Linked DNA regions of Homo sapiens: region 1 is linked to region 2. The links are contacts of gene promoters, found by promoter capture Hi-C in blood cells and fetal thymus (Javierre and others, 2016). All regions are on one chromosome and are shown on one strand. The core of a region is centred on a gene start or on the middle of the fragment in contact, and the rest is flanking DNA. Distances in the headings are between cores, read along the strand shown.

The links. Contacts are between HindIII fragments. The CHiCAGO score rates a contact against its expected background, and 5 or more counts as called.
Region 1: a contact is called between a fragment that was not itself captured here and the fragment with the promoter of TSPAN16 in region 2, in 1 of 17 cell types (endothelial precursors). The highest score is 7.9, in endothelial precursors.

Annotation. Positions count from the first base shown.
Region 1 is chr19:11,587,374-11,590,642 of GRCh38, forward strand. No RefSeq gene overlaps it. Among named protein-coding and RNA genes, the nearest start is that of ZNF627, 8.5 kb to the right of the region's middle. The HindIII fragment of the contact is 6,110 bases long and covers 1-3,269 here.
Region 2 is chr19:11,294,805-11,298,147 of GRCh38, forward strand. It overlaps TSPAN16 (tetraspanin 16), which reads left to right and starts at 1,356. Exons shown (of 7, transcript NM_001282509.2): 1 at 1,356-1,562; 2 at 3,338-3,343. The coding sequence starts at 1,494. The HindIII fragment of the contact is 19,527 bases long and covers 1-3,343 here.

The DNA of each region.
Region 1 (3,269 bases), core at 43-2,542, 290 kb after region 2:
AAAAATGAAAATTACTCTTGCCTGTAATCCCAGCATTTAGGGAGGCTCAGGTGGGAAGATTGCTTGAGCCTAGGAGTTTGAGACCAACCTGGGCAATATGGTGAGACTTTGTCTCCAATATAGATAGATGATAGACGGATGGATAGAAGATAGACAGATTAGACAGAGAGAGAGAGAGAAAGGAGAGAGAGAGAGAGAGAGAAAAGAGGGGAGGGGAGGGGAGGGGAGGGGAGGGGAGGGGAGGGGAGGAGAGGAGAGGAGAGGAGAGGAGAGGAGAGGAGAGGAGAGGAGAGGAGAGGAGAGGAGAGAGAAATTAGGCAGAGGAGAGGAGAGAGAAATTAGGCAGATGCCTTGGGCAGTGAAGTCCCTGGGGATGGTCTACTGTTCCCGCAGCCTGAGCGCCTTTTTCAGACGTTTTTATCTGTCCACTGCTGCCCCTGCATGGCCACAGCCTGAACTGCAGCACCGAACGCAGACCCAGTTTCCCTTTTGGAGAAGAAATTAATGCTCCTTCCAGCCCCCCACTTGCCACTAGGCCTGTGCAGGGCGTGGACAGATTCTACAGTGGATCCAGCCAGAGACTGCCCCAGAGAAAATTCCAGGGGTGGGATGAGTGAGGTATGCTGGGACTGGAATGTTTGTAGGATAACATGATGAGCAGCCGGATTCCCAGGAAATTGCAAACCGTGTCTGCTCTGGTGAGATTCTCAGAGGAGGGGATCTATAGGCAGTTCTGAGTAGGCACTGGGTAAAAGCCTGGAAAGAGGACCCTGGCTTGGATGGGGCTCTGCCTCACTCGCCATGAGCTCCTTGGCGCTATCAGTCAGCACAGTTCAGCTGCATGGGTGTGAAGGTGTCCTGGTGACTGGCTACCCCCATGCCTGCCTCAGTGCACGGGAGGTGGAATTATGGATTTGGTGGGGCTCGCACAGGCTAAGGGACTGATTTTCAGTCTGGAGAATGGGAGGGCAGGATGAGCTGTGGAGGGTCAGGCTGGTGGTTTGGAGGGTGGCATGATGTAAATGTAGCTGTTCACTGTTGTAGTTTGCTGCCACCAGTTCAGTCTGGCTAGGTTCCAGGTGGGTCAATAATCTCAAATGGGGCTGGGCTCAGTGGCTCACACCTGTAATCCCAGCACTTCGGGAGGCCGAGGCGGGTGGATCACTTGAGGCCAGGAGTTCGAGACTAGCCTGCCTAACATGGTGAAACCTCGTCTATACCAAAATATAAAAAATTAGCCAGGTGTGGTGGCGGGCGCCTGTAAGCCCAGCTACTCGGGAGACTGAGGCAGGAGAATGCTTGAACCCAGGGGGTGGAGGTTGCAGTGAGCCAAGATCGTGCCACTGCACTCCAGCCTGGGCGACAGAGCGAGATTCCACCAAAACAAACAAACAAACAAAATCCCAAATCGGGAGAGGTGAGGTGGGGTCTGTCATGCCAAGGAGTTGGTTTCTTTCTTTTTTTTTTTTTTTTTTGAGATGGAGTCTCAGTCTGTCACCCAGGCTGGAGTGCAGTGGCGCTATCTCGGCTCACTGCAAGCTCCGCCTCCCGGGTTCACGCCATTCTCCTGCCTCAGCCTCCCAAGTAGCTGGGACTACAGGTGCCCGCCACCACGCCCGGCTAATTTTTTGTATTTTTAGTAGAGACGGGATTTCACCGTGTTAGCCAGGTTGCTCTCGATCTCCTGACCTCTTGATCCGCCCGCCTCGGCCTCCCAAAGTGCTGGGATTACAGGCGTGAGCCACCGCGCCCGGCCAGGAGTTGGTCTTTATATTACCTAACTCCCACCTCTTTCCTCAATGATTTGAACGTTTGATCATTTGAATGTTTGAATGTTTGATCCTCGTGATCAAACATTCCCGTTACTCTCTAGACCCCATCATGCTCCCCCAACCCCTCCCCACATCCTCTCAGATATCCACCAGCTCTAGCCCCCAGAGTAAAAACATCCATCGTCTCCACCATCAAGTGAAAGCAAATGGTGACTTCCTTGCCTCAGCCATTGCTGAGCCAGTTGGATGGCAAGGAGGAAAACCCCACCCAAGCCCCACCTAACCCCTGTCCTCCTTTTCATCCCAGCCGGTGCCCACTGATTCCATGGTTACCTGACTTATCCACTCCAGCTCCTGGTCCTTCTATCCTGGGTACCGCTGAACTGCTTGGGAGTAGCAGGCTGAGAAGTTCTGGTGCCCCTCCTGCAGCAAGGCTGTCAGCGGGCACGGGAGGATGCGGGGACCGGCTGGAGTAAGCCATAGCCAGGGCAGGAAGGAGCCCCACACAGATCTCCCTCAGCTGTGAACTCCACAACGACCCACCTCACAGTCAACAACACCAATGGACACTCGTTCCTCTAATCCCGTTATTACTAGGCACCCATTTCTCTCCACCCAAGGTTTTGTTCACCATCCTCAATTATTTATTATTTTTTTGAGATGGAGTCCAGGCTGAAGTGCAGTAACGCAATTTCGGCTCACTGTAGCCTCTGCCTCCCGGGTTCAAGCGATTCCCCTGTCTCAGTCTCCCAAGTAGCTGGGATTACAGGCCCCCGGCACCACGCCCAGCTACTTTTTGTATTTTTAGTAGAGACGGGGTTTCCCCATGTTTGCCAGGCTGGTCTCAAACTCTTGACTTCAGGTCATCTGCCTGCTTCGGCCTCCCAAAGTGCTGGGATTACAGACGTGAGCCACCACGCCCAGCCGGTACCCCCAATTATTTCAGTATTCATGATCCGCAGGAAGGAATACATATGTTTTGTTGTTGTTGTTGTTGTTTTGTTTTGTTTCTTTTGTATTTTTAGTAGAGATGGGATTTTGCCATGTTGGCCAGGCTGGTCTCAAACTCCTGACCTCAGGTGATCCTCCTGCCTCGGCCTCCCAAAGTGCTGGGATTACAGTTGTAAGCCACCATGCCAGGCCATGAATACATATGTTTTATTGAGTTCTTTTTTTTTTTTTTTTTTTTTTTTTGAGATAGGGTCTCACTCTGTTGCCCAGGCTAGACTGCAGTGGCACCATCTGCTCACTGTGACCTCGACCTCTCAAGCTCAAGCGATCCTCCTACCTCAGCCTCCCCAGTAGCTGGGACTATAGGCGTGCACCACCATACCTAGCTAATTTTTGTATTTTTTGTAGAGACAGGGTTTGGCCATGTTGCCCAGGCTTCTTCTTTTTCAATGAATGTATTTACAGCTATAAATTTTTCCTTCTAGCACTGCTTTCTCTGCATTCCATACATTTTGATATGTTGGATTTTCATATTTGTCTCAAGGT
Region 2 (3,343 bases), core at 106-2,605:
TTAGTTCTACATGTTCCAAGAAGCAGGCGATTTGACAGACATTCATTAAATTAATTAAAGTGTAAGGTATTTTCTCCCATTTGAACCATCCGCCTTCCCCCAATCCATGCAGGACCTGGACCCAGACACACCCCAGCCCAGGGCTGGACAGAGAGGGGATCGGGGTGGGGCAATGTGAAGCTGCTATGGTTAGGGTGGGGAGGTATGGGGGCAAAGTGGGCTACAGACTGCAGGATCTAGGCCTGGAGGTCTTCAGTGCTGACATACAGAAGGTTTTTGGTCCTGAAATGCTAACTACATCTATCACCATGGAGAAAAGCCCAATGACCTGCTACTTGGGAGGCTAAGGTGGGAGGATCACTTGAGCCAGGGAGGTCGTGGCTGCAGTAAGCCATGATCACACCACTGCACTCCAGCCTGGGCAATGGAGCAAGATCCTGTCTCAAAAGAAAAAAACCCAGTGACCAATGGCTCACAGTTCCAGGACTCTCTGCCTTACAGGTTCCTGCCCTCATGTTACTCTTGGGGCTTCAAAGCCTGGTCTTGCTTCCTGTGTGGCCTCAGGCAGTTCCCTTGGCCTCTCTGAGCCCTGTATGAAGGATGGGCCAAGTATGGGCTTGGGCTTGGGAGGCCCGGTGGCTTGTAGCTAGATTTCTGCATCACAGAGCCTCTGGATCCATTCATTCATTCTCCGCGGGTTTCTTAAGTACTGCAGTGCCAGGCTTTGGGGACACAGCTGTTTTTGTTTTTGTTTTGTTTTGTTTGAGACAGAGTCTCACTCCGTCAACCAGGCTGGAGTGGAATGGCACGACCTCAGATCACTGCAACCTCCACCTCCTGGGTTCAAGTGATTCTCCTGCCCCAGCCTCCCAAGTAGCTGGGATTATAGGCGTGTGCCACCACACCCAGGTAATTTTTGTATTGTTTGTATTGTTAGTAGGTCTCAAACTCCTGACCTCAGGTGATTCGCCCGTCTCCGCCTCCCAACATGCTTTGACTACAGGTGTGAGCCACTGCGCCTGGCAGGGGTCACAGCTGTTAATAGGACAGCCCAAGTTCCCCCCTCCCCCGCTTGGATCCCCCAGTCTACTAGGAGATGTCAACTGTGCAAGTGGTTAGCTCTGGGCACTATGCCCACAGGGTCCTGGTGGCATCTGGAGGGTACCAGGGTAGCATACCATGCCTGTTCTCTTTCCCTGCTGTGACCTGTTTGAAGGATGAGGAGCCAACAGGGGGCAGTTTGGGGCACCTGATTTCCCTGGACCATGAGCCTTGCTCCAGAACCCAATTGTGATGTGATAAAAGGCTTATGACCAGGGCAGGGGGCAGCTGCTGGGCCGCCTTGGACAACCATCAGGCAGCCAGGACACAGAGGGGCAGAGCAAGTCAGCATTGGCGCCCCTTCCTCAGATCCCTATCATCTTGGGAAACAGTAGCCCAGAGGTTCAGGAAGATGTTAACTTAAATGTTCAGGGTGCCCCAGTCTGTTCAGCATGGCTGAAATCCACACTCCGTATTCTTCCTTGAAGAAACTGTTATCTTTACTCAATGGCTTCGTGGCTGTAAGTATGTCACAATCCAGGCCCCTGGTTTGTTGCAGCCCTTCCTCCACAGTCAGCTCCCTGAAAGACAGAAATAAGTTGATCCAAATTGGCATCGAGATCTGTGGTTCCCTGGAGAAGCAGGAGGGATGTAGGGCAGACGGAGGAGGAGGAGCAGGGAGCGTGGGGACCTCCATCAACCGAGAGCTGGTGAAATCCAGCACAGATGAGTGTGATCTGGGGGAGCCCAGGTGGGTGATGGAAGAGCTTGGCTCTAAGTCAAATCCTGTAGCCGACCAAGTTGTTTGGGAAGGCCAGGAGAAAGGGTTATTTTCTTGATCTTTTAAATTTGTCACATTTTTTTCCTTACCGTAAAAGTAACCCGAAATGTACATTGCTAAGGAATTGTCAGGCCGGGGGCGCTGGCTCATGCCTGTAATCCCAACGCTTTGGGAGGCCAAGGCGGGTGGATCACGAGGTCAGGAGTTCAAGACCAGCCTTGGTCAATATGGGGAAACCCCATCTCTACTAAAAATACAAAAAAATTAGATGGGCGTGGTGGCACGTGCCTATAATCCCAGCTACTCAGGAGGCTGAGGCATGTGAATTGCTTGAACCTGGGCGGCAGAGGTTGGCAGTGAGCCGAGATTGTGTCACTGCACTCCAGCCTGGGCAACATAGCGAGACTCTGTCTCAATAAAAAAATAAAAGAATAAAAACATAAAAAGAAGTAATTGTCTTCATTGTAGCATAGTCTAAGGAAAAGCTGCCAGGAAAGAGAAGGAAATGAAATATCACTCCTCCTCTTCACTTGTAACATTTTAAAGAGAATTAAGGCCGGCTGTGGTGACTCATGCCTGTAATCCCAGCACTTTGGGAGGCCGAGGTGGGCAGATCCATTGAGCCAGGAGCTCGAGACCAGCTATAGTGAGATCCCCATCTCTATTTAAAAAATAATAATACAAAATAAAGTGTTATTGGAACATGGCCGTGCTCACTTATTTGGAGATTGTGAACAGCTGCTTTTGGGCTACACCAATAGAACTGCGTAGTTTCAACAGACACCTTAAGTCCTGCAGAGGCCACAACATCTGGGTTTTTCAGAAAAAAAAAATTGCTAATCCCTGTCCTATGACATTATTTTATTTTATTTTATTTTATTTTATTTTGAGACGGAGTCTTGCTCTGTCACCCAGGCTGGAGTGCAGTGGCATGATCTCAGCTCACTGCAACCTCCACCTCCCAGGTTTAAGCGATTCTTCTGCCTCAGCCTCCTGAGTAGCTGGGATTACAGGTGCCCACCACCACGCCCGGCCAATTTTTGTATTTTTAGTAGAGACAGGGTTTCGCCATGTTGGCCAGGCTGGTCTCGAACTCCTGACCTCAGGTGATCCACCTGCTTCGGCCTCCCAAAGTGCTGGGATTACAGGTGTGAGCCACTGTGGCTGGCCTATTTTATTTTTTGAGACAAGGTCTTGATCTGTCATCCAGGCTGGAGTACAGTGGCACAGTCATAGCTCACTGCAGTCTCAACCTCATGAGCTAAAGTGATCCTCCCACTGCAGACACCTGAGTAGCTGAGACTACAGGCACGCACTACTACTGGCTATTTTTTTTTTGTTGGGGAGAGGGTACAGATGAGGTCTTACCAAGCTGGTCTTGAACTCCTGGGCTCAAGTCTTGGCCTTGGCCTCCCAAAGTGCTGGGATTACAGGCATGAGCCACCGCACTCACCCAGTTCTATTTGTATACAACTAACAGATTACTTTTCTTCCTTTCTGGTTTCTGTTCTAAAGGTGTCT